4 separate regions of the Homo sapiens genome follow, and all the other regions are linked to region 4. The links are contacts of gene promoters, found by promoter capture Hi-C in blood cells and fetal thymus (Javierre and others, 2016). All regions are on one chromosome and are shown on one strand. Each heading gives the region's core, a stretch centred on a gene start or on the middle of the fragment in contact. The rest is flanking DNA. Distances are from core to core; before and after follow the strand shown. Region 1 overlaps MADD (MAP kinase activating death domain). Region 2 overlaps MADD (MAP kinase activating death domain). Region 3 overlaps MADD (MAP kinase activating death domain). Region 4 holds the start of KBTBD4 (kelch repeat and BTB domain containing 4).

Region 1 (2,700 bases), core at 93-2,592, 270 kb before region 4:
GAGTAGCTGAAGCTCCTGAGGTTACAGGCATGCACCACCACGCCCAGCTAATTTTTGTATTTTCAGTAGAGATGGGCATTCCCCATGTTGGCCAGGCTGATCTTGAACTCCTGACCTCAAGTGATCTGCCTGCCTTAGCTCCCAAAGTTCTGGGATTACGGGTGTGAACCACCGCACCTGGCTTACACTCTTAGTTTTTTAAAAATGCCAGTTGTGCTTGTAAATGTCCTTGAAGAAGCAGTGAAGACTGTTACTCTTATTAGATTGATTAATTATAAATGTTTTTAATATTCTTTGTGACAAAATGGGAAGTACACATAAAGCATCTCTGTTGCAAACCCAGTATGATGGTTGTTTTGAAGAAAAGCAATTTGCAGCCTTGATTTGTTCACCTTGAGTTGCAAGTGAACTTAATCGCTTTGTTCATTGAACATCATTTTTACTGGAAAGGACAATTAATAAACCATGGTTATTCAGAGTACCCAACTGGCAGACATTTTCCTTCAGTTAATCAAGTGAGCCTGTTGTTTCAGGGAAAACAACTGACAGTATTTGTTGCCAATGATAAGATTCAGCTTTTAAGTGAAAATAAGAATTTTGGCAGAGTTTTGAACTTGAAGCTTCCCAATATTTAAAGACTTTTCTAATGAGATTGGTGGTGATATTAATGAATGTGATTTTTTAAACATTGATTTAATATTACAAAATATGTCAACATTTGGAAGAGCTGTGTAACTCAGTGAAACACTATTTTCTTTCTTTTTTTTTTTTTGGAGACGGAGTCTCGCTCTGTGGCCCAGGCTGGAGTGCAGTGGCAGGATGCTGGCTCACTGCTACCTCCGCCTCCTGGGCTCCTGGGTTCAAGCAATTCTCCTGCCTCAGCCTCCTGAGCAGCTGGGAGTACAGGCGTATGCTGCCACACCTGGCTAGTTTTTTTTTTTTTTTGTATTTTAATAGAGACGGGGTTTCACCATCTTGCCCAGGCTGTGGTCTTGAACTCCTGAGTTTAGTCAATCCGCCCACCTTGGCCTTCCAAAGTTCTAGGATTACAGGCACCCAGCCAACAGTATTTTCTAAATACCAATGTATGATGTTGTAAATTCAAGTATGGATAAAAGATCTACTCAAAATGCAAGGCAGAGATATGGATCTTAATTTTTAAATAACATTTTTTTTCAGTCTGGGGAACATAGACCCCATTTCTTTTTGTTTGTTTGTTTGTTTTTGAGACGGAGTCTCACTCTGTCACCCGGGCTGGAGTGCAGCGGCGCGATCTCGGCTCACTACAACCTCCGCCTCCCAGGTTCAAGCTATTCTCCTGCCTCAGCCTCATGAGTAGCTGGGATTACAGGTGCCCGCCACAACGCCCGGCTAATTTTTATGTTTTTAGTAGAGATGGGGTTTCACCACGCTGGTCAGGCTGGTCTCCAACTCCTGACCTTTTGATCCGCCCACCTCGGCCTCCCAAAGTGCTGGGATTACAGGTGTGAGCCACCGCGCCCAGCCAAGGGAGACCCCATTTCTACAAAAAATAAAAAAATTAGCTAGGCATGGTGGCATGCACCTGTAGTCCCAGCTACTTGGGAGGCTGAGGTGGGAGGATCACTTGAGCTCAGGAGGTTGAGGCTGCCGTGAGCACCACTGCACTCCAGCCTGGGTGACAGAATGAGACCCTGTCTCAAAAAAAAAAAAAAAGTGTATGGAGAATAGGGTCTCACTTTGTTGCCCAGGCTGGTCTCCAACTCCTGCCTGGGCTCAAACGGTACTCCTGACTTGGCCTCCCAAAGTGTTGGGATTATAGGAATGAGCCACCATGTCTGGCCTAAATGGATTTTAATGTAACAATGTAAAATGTTCATTGATGTGCTTTCAGATTCCACACTGCAACTAACTTTCAAAAGCTGCTTTTGCTGGGTGTTGTGGTTTATGCCTGTAATTCCAGGTACTTGGGAGGCTGAGGCAGGAGTGTCACTTAAGCCCAGGAGTTCAGAGCTGTGGTGGGCTATGGTCATGCCACTGCACTCCAGCCTGGATGACAGAGCGAAACCTTGTCTCTAAAAAAAAAGAAGCTTCTGCTTCCCAAGTTCTGGTGTAGTGTTAAAGAAGAATACGTCTATTTATCTGAAAAGGCTATGAAAATCCTCTTCCATTTTCCAAATACGTATCTCTGAGGTCAAGTTTTTTTCATATACCTCAACCAAAGCAACATACTGCAACAGACTCAATGCAGAGGCAGATAGGAGAATGCAACTATTTGATTCTAAGCCAAACATTAAAGAGATTTGCAAAAATGTGAAACAGTGCCTTTTTTTTGAAAATATAGTTATTTTATTAAAAATGTTTATATTACTATGTAATGGGTTATATTAATCATTAATTGTTTTTATAATTAATCATTTGAGAAATTTCTGTTTAAATTTCTAGTATGTAAATATCTATAAATATAACTCACATAAACAAAAGCTCTTTGGAATCTTCAATAAATTTTAAGAGATATAGGGCCTCTGAGACCAAAACATCTGAAACCACTTCCCTGGTGACCAGTGGCCAGCAGATGAGACTGTGCTGAGGAAGCCGATATGAATTTGATTGCTGGATGGGGAATTCTTGGCCCAGAGCCCTCTGAGAGGGATGTATGACTGTCCCTAAAAAATCTCTCTTTCATCAGAATGGACGCGATCTCTCTATCTGGTCCAGTGG
Region 2 (2,700 bases), core at 36-2,535, 300 kb before region 4:
TCCTGATCCACCCTGGAGGGATCCTGAGAGTGACTTCAATTTTTGTTACAATGACTGAGTCCAGATTAGATGGCCTAGGTCTGTTTTTCAGAAACAGAGCCCCAGGCGTTAAGCTGGAAATTAAGTCATTGGTAGGGATAGGTAGGTGAACCATTATTTATCTACATTTTTTTTTTTTTCTTGAGACGGAGTCTCACTCTGTCACCCAGGCTCGAGTGCAGTGGTGCGATCTCAGCTCACCACAGCCTCCACCTCCTGGGTTCAAGCGATTCTCATGCCTCAGACTCCCGAGTAGCTGGGATTACAGATGTGTGCCACCACACCCGGCTAATTTTTTTGTATTTTTAGTAGAGATGGGGTTTTGCCATGTTGGCCAGCTGGTCTCAAACTCCTGACCTCAGGTGATCCGCCTCGGCCTCCCAGAGTTCTGGGATTACAGGCGTGAGCCACCATGCCTGGCCTATCTATTTTTTAACATTCGATTCTGTGAGCTCATGAGCCTAGACACGAGGCTAGGCAAGCGTCAAGTTCTCCTATCATTAGTATGAAAGTGGAAGACCTTCTGACCTCTGCCTCTGGCCGGGAAGAAGTTGAGAGGGATGAGTCCCTTAGGCACAGCAGTGGATCTTATCAGTACTTTTTTTCCTATTAGACTTCGATTTTCAGAATTCCTCCTGGGAATGCTGACTCCTTGCTTGGTGCCCTGATGCTTCTCTGAGATAAACTGATGAATTGGAACCATGGTGCAAAAGAAGAAGTTCTGTCCTCGGTTACTTGACTATCTAGTGATCGTAGGGGCCAGGTAACCAAGAAGAGATTGACTTTTGTCTTAATATCTGGGATAGCCATAAAATCTGCAGTTGTTCCCTTCTCCGATTTCCATGTTGCTTTGCATAGCTCATCTTCTCCTGTTATTTTACCCTGATGGGAGCATCGAAGCCAGTAGGGAAAAAACAAAATCAGGTGGATTGAAAGCAAAACCCTGCTCTTAACTAACATCTTCTTGATGTCGAGCAAATATACTCTTTATACCTCAGTTTTCTTATTTTGTAAAAAGAAAAAGTACATTATAAGCTACTCCTCTATGTATACTTTTTTGGTAATTTATTAGTTAATTCACTTTAAAAGATGTTAATCATCTTAAGGTGCCAGTGATAATTTTATTGTCAAAATCTCCCCTTCGTTTCAGAATAGATGCCTTCATGACAGTGTAGACTTCACTTAGGTTACCAGCTCCATGCGGCAGGCAGCACCCATATTTTCCAAGGTGTTACAGTCAGGTTACTTTATCCAAAATAGCATCTTGAGCTTTATTTGTTGACTGTGGTTAAAATTTGATAGCCCATTCCATCCCTTCAGGCTGCTGAATTTGTCTTTATGTTCTTCAGGCACCCGAGCAGTGATAGCGTGGCCCAGACTCCTGAATTGCTACGGCGATACCCCTTGGAGGATCACACTGAGTTTCCCCTGCCCCCAGATGTAGTGTTCTTCTGCCAGCCCGAGGGCTGCCTGAGCGTGCGGCAGCGGCGCATGAGCCTTCGGGATGATACCTCTTTTGTCTTCACCCTCACTGACAAGGACACTGGAGTCACGCGATATGGCATCTGTGTTAACTTCTACCGCTCCTTCCAAAAGCGAATCTCTAAGGAGAAGGGGGAAGGTGGGGCAGGGTCCCGTGGGAAGGAAGGAACCCATGCCACCTGTGCCTCAGAAGAGGGTGGCACTGAGAGCTCAGAGAGTGGCTCATCCCTGCAGCCTCTCAGTGCTGACTCTACCCCTGATGTGAACCAGTCTCCTCGGGGCAAACGCCGGGCCAAGGCGGGGAGCCGCTCCCGCAACAGTACTCTCACGTCCCTGTGCGTGCTCAGCCACTACCCTTTCTTCTCCACCTTCCGAGAGTGTTTGTATACTCTCAAGCGCCTGGTGGACTGCTGTAGTGAGCGCCTTCTGGGCAAGAAACTGGGCATCCCTCGAGGCGTACAAAGGTACAGTTTGCTGCTGATGCCTAATGGGGGAAGCATTTAGAGATTCCATGTAATTGGTCTTTGAGGGGCATAGGAAATTTCCTCTACAGCTCAAGGTCCTTCAGACCTATTAAGCATATTTAGAGTATTTAGAGTTAATCTTTTTTCTTTTGGAGACAGTCTCGCTCTGTTGCCCAGGCTGGAGTACAGTGGTGCGATCTCGGCTCACTGCAACCCCTGCCTCCTGGGTTCAAGTGATCCTTCTGCCTCAGCCTCCCGAGTAGCTGGGATTACAGGTGCACGCCACCATGACCAGCTAATTTTGGTATTTTTGTAGAGACAAGGTTTCGCCATGTTGGCCAGGCTGGTCTCAAACTCCTCACCTCAGGTGGTCCACCCACGTTGGCCTCCCAAAGTGCTGGGATTATAGGCGTGAGCATCATCCCCAGCCAAGAGTTAATCTTTACTAAGCAAAAGACTGCTGCAGAGTTAGACCTCTTTCCAAAATTGTGTTTGGAGTAATGCTGGAATTTGGTGTTTTAACTGTGGTTAGGACAGTAAGTCTTACCCAGTATATATCTTTACATTTGCTTTTGCCATTGTATATACTTTCCGGTCCTATCTGAGCTCAGAGACTGGGCTTTCTTAATGATGCTCCGTTTCCCATTGTCATCATTAGAGCCTCTGTGGTGATACTGAGTTGCAGTAGGGTATCAGCTTCTGATGCTAATGTGTC
Region 3 (2,700 bases), core at 187-2,686, 280 kb before region 4:
TGACAGTGACTTGAGCAGCAATGCAGGTGATGGACCAGGTGGCGAGGGCAGTGTTCACCTGGCAAGCTCTCGGGGCACTTTGTCTGATAGTGAAATTGAGACCAACTCTGCCACAAGCACCATCTTTGTAAGCTTTGTTTATTAACAAAAGAAAACCATTTCTTTAATGGGGGAGGGAAGCAGGCAAGAAAAGAATGAAAGTTAAGAGACGCTAAAGAGGTAAAGGTTAAATAAGGAAGAGGTAATCTTCTTATATTTGGCTTTAAGGAAAACATTTCTTAAGGCTTTGTTCAGAGTCATTTGACTCACAATCTGGGGCTTTTAGAACCCTCTCCTGAATCATTGATGAGTTAGGCTCCGTGCCCAGTCACGTAAGGGCTTTGAATCCTATGTAGTATTAACCCCCAGGTTTAACACAGGCAAAGTAATACCTTTGTGGCAATGTCAGGACAATTACAGCTCTCGTTTAGTACCAGTCTGCCTATTTCTATGGACTATCCAGTTTTATTTTGGTCACTGCTCTATTTATAAATAAAATAGCATTTTATTTTAGTATATTCCTAACAGTTATTTGAAGTTTTCATTCATTAATAAACATCCATGAAGTGATTTACTAAGTGCCAGATTTTGTGCTAAAGAAACAGGGATGAAAAAGGCATGGTTTCTACTCAAGAAGTTTGTGATTCACTATATTGCTGTGAGTAGTCTCTTCTAATAGGTGAGGGGAACAATGCCTTAGGAAAAAAGAACTTCCCTAGATCACACAGTAAGCCCATGATCAGCTGGAAGGAGATGAATTCTTTTTAGTCCTTGCCGTAGACATCTGTTTTTTGTTGTTTTTTTTTTTTTTTTTTTTTACACAGGGTCTCACTCTGTTGCCCAGGCTGGAGTGTAGTGGCACAGTCACTGCTCAACTGCTCACTGCAGCTTTGACCTGTTAGGCTCAAGTGATCCTCCCACCTCAGCCTCCCAAGTAGCTGGGACTGCAGGCATACACCACCATGCCTGGCTAATTTTTTAGTTTTTTGTAGAGATGGGGTTTCCCTCTGTTGTCTAGGCCAGTCTCAAACTCCTGGGTTAAGTGAGCCTCCTGCCTTGGCCTCTTAAAGTGGCATGAGCCACTGTGCCCAGCCTCTGCTTTTTAATGTGTATGTGCCTCTATAGGCTGTGTTAAAACACTGATAGACTTGTTACTTTATTAAACAGAGATGAGAATGGATGTTCTCTACAAGAGCTTATACGCATAGGTCCTTATCTTTAAGGCCTATGGGGAGAAAGGAAGATAAAAGTTAAATGAAACCAACTATTTAAAACTGGTTATCATTCCCACCCCCAGAGCCTTCTGTATGTGTGTTTTTAATAGAGTCAGTGACCTCCCAGAGTGGAGATTGGGAATAGGACTGAGAGGCTACTCAAGTTAATGGGCCTTAACTCTCTCTCAGTCTGAACAGACTGATTGGCTGATTGAGTGATTGATTTTTCTTTTGTGCTGACAGTTTATTAGGGGTTTTCTTTTCTTTTCTTTTTTTTTTTTTTGAGATGGAGTCTCGCTGTGTCACCCAGGCTGGAGTGCAGTGGTGCGATCTCGGCTCACGGCAAGCTCCGCCTCCTGGGTTCACACTCTTCTCTTGCCTCAGCCTCCCAAGTAGCTGGGACTACGGGTGCCCGCCACCACGCCCAGCTAATTTTTTGTATTTTTAGTGGAGATGGGGTTTCACCATGTTAGCCAGGACGGTCTTGATCTCCTGACTTCGTGATCTGCTCGCCTTGGCCTACCAAAGTGCTGGGATTACAGGCGTGAGCCACTGCTCCCGGCCAAGGGTTTTCAATAATGTTTTCTTTTCTTTTCTTTCTTTCTTTCTTTTTTTTTTTTTTTTTGAGATAGAATCTTGCTCTGTCGCCCAGGCTGGAGTGCAGTGGCGCGATCTCTGCTCACTGCAATCTCCACCTCCCAGGTTCACACCATTCTCCTTCCTCAGCCTCCCGAGTAGCTGGGACTACAGGCGCCCACCACCATGCCCGGCTAATTTTTTGTATTTTTAGGAGAGATGGGGTTTCACCGTGTTAGCCAGGATGGTATCAATCTCCTGACCTTGTGATCTGCCCACCTCGGCCTCCCAAAATGCTGGGATTACAGGCATGAGCCACCGCGCCCGGCCTTCTTTACATATTAGTTCAACCTTCACCACAAAATCTAACCATGGATCGTAAAAATTAAATTGGCAACGGGGCTAGCCTGCTATACTTCCTGTTTACTTTTAGATGCTTTTCAAACCAATAAGGATGACATTTGTGGTGGAAGGAGCCAGAGTAATAGGAAAATTACTTCTCTTCGCTTAGAAGAAAATCCTCCACCTTGAGCATCTTCTGAACTTTTTACTATAAGACATCTCAGTGCTTGCTTGTACTCTTCAGCCGCATAACTGTGAAGATAGCAACCATCAGTTTCTCATAAATGGAAGCGGCAGTGAGAACCGTCTACAGCAGTTTGGCTTCAAGGCCTGTGTAGAGGCCCATTATTCCAAAACACCTGTTAGCCATTTGTATGTCTTCTTTTGAGAGAGATCTATTCAGCTCATTTGCCCATTTTTAAATAGATTATTTGTGTTTTTTTGCTGTTGAGTTTTTTCTTTCTTGTATATTCTGGCTATTAATCCCTTGTCAGATGAATAGTTTGTAAATATTTTCTCCCATTCTGCA
Region 4 (2,894 bases), core at 1-2,500:
ACTCGCTGACATCCTGCAGCACAATCACCCGGTTGTGGGCCTCCTTCAGGTTGGAAGTGAACATGGATCGGAAGAAGCAGCTCTGAGCTGAGAGGACCAGCCGATGGAGCTGAAACTCCCGGCCTTCCACCGAAATGGTGACATCAGCAAAGAGCTCCTCCTCTAGACACAGTTTCATGATGCCTTGAGCCACACGGCCTGAATGTGACCGATCTTTGAAAGTGTAGTTCACAAAGTAGTTCTCATCCATGGATGCTCCAGGCTCCTCTGGTGATTCCATGCTAGCCAACTTCTCTCTCTGCCAGCTGTCTGCAAAGCAACACCATCTTGAGTAACCTGAGGAATTCACAGCCATAGTCTGTGAATCCAACTGTCCAACTCAGGGAGGGAAAAGGAAGAAGTGAGAGCAAAGTGGGTCCAGATTGGCCTTAGTCCTGGCCCTGTCCATGATGTCCCTGACGCTATCCTTTAACCAAATCTGGGTTCGTTATCCCCAGTGGCGCCCCTCCGCTAATGATATAAATAAAAGTTCCAACTCTGGGTGTTTTCCTGAGAAAACACGGAATAATTCCTTTCCATAATGTTAACAAAAGACTTGGGATTTAGGTCAATATATGAAAGCAAAGGGCTGGGAGAGGCCTGTGATCGTAAAAGCCTTACTAACCAAATAACTGGGGCATAAAACTAGTGAAGCTCAGGGGCAGTAGAATCAGACAAAAAGGACCCCTGGCCCCGGCCTAGTGGCCAGGTCCTCTCCTTCCCAGCGCATGGAGTTAAGACGCTCCATATGAAGCCTAGCCTGGGATATCCGTGGGTCTTACATTTGCTCTCTTCTGAGCTGCTTCCCCCACACTTCCCCGCTCGCTCGAAAGACTCCCTATGGCTGCGTCCCAGAACTTGAGTCCATCCGCCCCCAGGCCGGGGCACTGGGAGGCCCATCACCCTGTGCAATGTCCCCGCTCCACCTTGAGTCGTCTTGGAAACGGTCGCCAGGGAAACCGTTCTTCCCGCTCAGGCCCGCCCGCCCTCGTCAAAAGCTTGGCTCAGAGAGCGGGGGAGGGGTGTGTAGCGTAGAACCCAAAACGCCCGCCCCCTCCCCTCCTCTCACCCGCCTGGTTCTTCAGCGTCCTCGCCTTCTCTCTAGGCTCTGCCACAAGGAGCTAGGACCACGCTCACCTCACGATTTCCCTACCTGCCTGTCTCGCTTTCTCACCTGCGTTCCCTCCTTTCATCCCGGAGCCCGGAACCTCCGCTTCCGGCTCCACGTCCGCCCGGAAGAAGATCTGCTGCACACTTCCGTTTCCGGTCCGTGCCCTTGGGGCTCCGTGTCCTGCTGTCTTTCCGTCCGCTGCCTAGTCTGCATCTGAGTAACATGGCGGCGGCGGCGGTAGCCAGGCTGTGGTGGCGCGGGATCTTGGGGGCCTCGGCGCTGACCAGGGGTGAGCACGGGCAGCCAGCTGAGACCGGGGTCAGGCGCAGCGGCGTGCCCAGTGCAGAGAGCTCCTCAGGGCTCATCCCGCGCGTCTGTGCCTTTTATCTCCCTGTGCAGGGACTGGGCGACCCTCCGTTCTGTTGCTGCCGGTGAGGCGGGAGAGCGCCGGGGCCGACACGCGCCGTGAGTATGTGCGGGCAGCGCTCTTCTCTGAACTATCGGCGGGGCCCCTTAGATGCCTGTCCTTGCCCTAGGATGCCCTTCCCTACGTCCTCCTGGCAAATCTTGGAGATCTGACTTGCAGTGGTCTTCACCCTGCATGCAGAATCGAGCCCTCCCTGTGCCCTTAGGCCTGTTATGGCCCTGATTGTTCCTTGTCCATTTCAATCATCCCCTTTTTGTCTGATTAAACTGTCAGCTCTTTGAAAGCAAGCAATATAACCTTTAGGCCTCAGAGCCCTGTAATAATAGTACCTAGCGTTAATTGAGTGCTTAATGTGTGCCTGGAACCTCGCTAAGCGTTTTAGTGAATGATCTTATTTCGTCCTCACAACAGCCTTATGGGGTAGATAGCATCTTACTCTTCTTACTATAGATCAGGAAACAGTCCAAAGAATTAAACTGCCCAGGGTCAAAGACCTAGTGAATGACAAAGTAGGCCTGCCTGCTGCCAGAGGCAGAAACACCTAACCATTATTCTGTAGCTTGTGATGTGTGATTGCTCAGTGGTTTAGGGTTGCATGAATGAGTATGTACATATTATGTTACAGTCAAGATACACGGACTGGGAGTTAGGAGACCTGGCATTTCTCCTTTCCTGGGTTTTCTCATTGACACACACACACACACACACACACACACACACACACACACACACACCTGGGCCTCAGTTTTCTCATTGACACACACACACACACACACTTTTAAGGAGAGAGAGAGTCTGTGAGGGATCTTCAAGCCCTGAAGTTCTTAGCTTGAGAACCTGGTATAAACTTGCGTGCTAAGGAGCTACAGAGAGGCAAAAGTTCAGTTCCCATCCTCAAACAGCTCTTAGTCTGACAGGAGAACTGAGACTACTGCTTTAGCAGAAATGCAGGCAATGTGAGGGAAGAACTGTGGAGTAATTTTGAGAAGAGGTGAACACCCCAGCTGCTATAGTAAGAGTCTTTCTGAGGACCGTGTAGTTAAGGTGGCACTTTCCCCAAGTTTTCATCACTGTATTCCCTAGAAGGGAAACCTTTCACATGCACCTTTCTCAAGGTGCTTCAGGGAGCCTTTCCTGGATTTGACATCCCTTACAAGCCTAAGAGACTGCATGCAGGGCTGGCTTTTGCCTTCTCCATTTCTTTTTTAAATATGCCTTTTCCTTCCAGCCACTGTCAGACCACGGAATGATGTGGCCCACAAGCAGCTCTCAGCTTTTGGAGAGTATGTGGCTGAAATCTTGCCCAAGTATGTCCAA

The links. The method cuts DNA at HindIII sites, captures the fragments that hold promoters and counts their contacts. A CHiCAGO score of 5 or more calls a contact.
Region 1: a contact is called between a fragment that was not itself captured here and the fragment with the promoter of KBTBD4 in region 4, in 1 of 17 cell types (monocytes). The highest score is 5.4, in monocytes.
Region 2: a contact is called between a fragment that was not itself captured here and the fragment with the promoter of KBTBD4 in region 4, in 2 of 17 cell types (neutrophils and monocytes). The highest score is 6.0, in neutrophils.
Region 3: a fragment that was not itself captured here is called in contact with the fragment with the promoter of KBTBD4 in region 4 in 1 of 17 cell types (M2 macrophages); the score reaches 5.8 in M2 macrophages.

What each region holds. Positions count from the first base shown.
Region 1 is chr11:47,312,552-47,315,251 of GRCh38, forward strand. It overlaps MADD (MAP kinase activating death domain), which reads left to right. Exons shown (of 37, transcript NM_001376571.1): 30 at 2,669-2,700. Among named protein-coding and RNA genes, the nearest start is that of MYBPC3, 39 kb to the right of the region's middle. The HindIII fragment of the contact is 1,449 bases long and covers 619-2,067 here.
Region 2 is chr11:47,273,175-47,275,874 of GRCh38, forward strand. It overlaps MADD (MAP kinase activating death domain), which reads left to right. Exons shown (of 37, transcript NM_001376571.1): 2 at 653-802; 3 at 1,389-1,985. The coding sequence starts at 741. Among named protein-coding and RNA genes, the nearest start is that of MADD-AS1, 2.4 kb to the left of the region's middle. The HindIII fragment of the contact is 3,506 bases long and covers 1-2,700 here.
Region 3 is chr11:47,295,929-47,298,628 of GRCh38, forward strand. It overlaps MADD (MAP kinase activating death domain), which reads left to right. Exons shown (of 37, transcript NM_001376571.1): 24 at 1-127. Among named protein-coding and RNA genes, the nearest start is that of MADD-AS1, 25 kb to the left of the region's middle. The HindIII fragment of the contact is 2,613 bases long and covers 131-2,700 here.
Region 4 is chr11:47,577,720-47,580,613 of GRCh38, forward strand. KBTBD4 (kelch repeat and BTB domain containing 4) reads right to left here and starts at 1,251. Exons shown (of 4, transcript NM_018095.6): 1 at 1,214-1,251; 2 at 1-309. The coding sequence starts at 1,232. It overlaps NDUFS3 (NADH:ubiquinone oxidoreductase core subunit S3), which reads left to right and starts at 1,355. Exons shown (of 7, transcript NM_004551.3): 1 at 1,355-1,439; 2 at 1,550-1,615; 3 at 2,806-2,894. The coding sequence starts at 1,373. RefSeq lists enhancers at 810-1,469, 1,162-1,401, 1,470-2,128 and a silencer at 2,870-2,894. The HindIII fragment of the contact is 1,977 bases long and covers 1,036-2,894 here.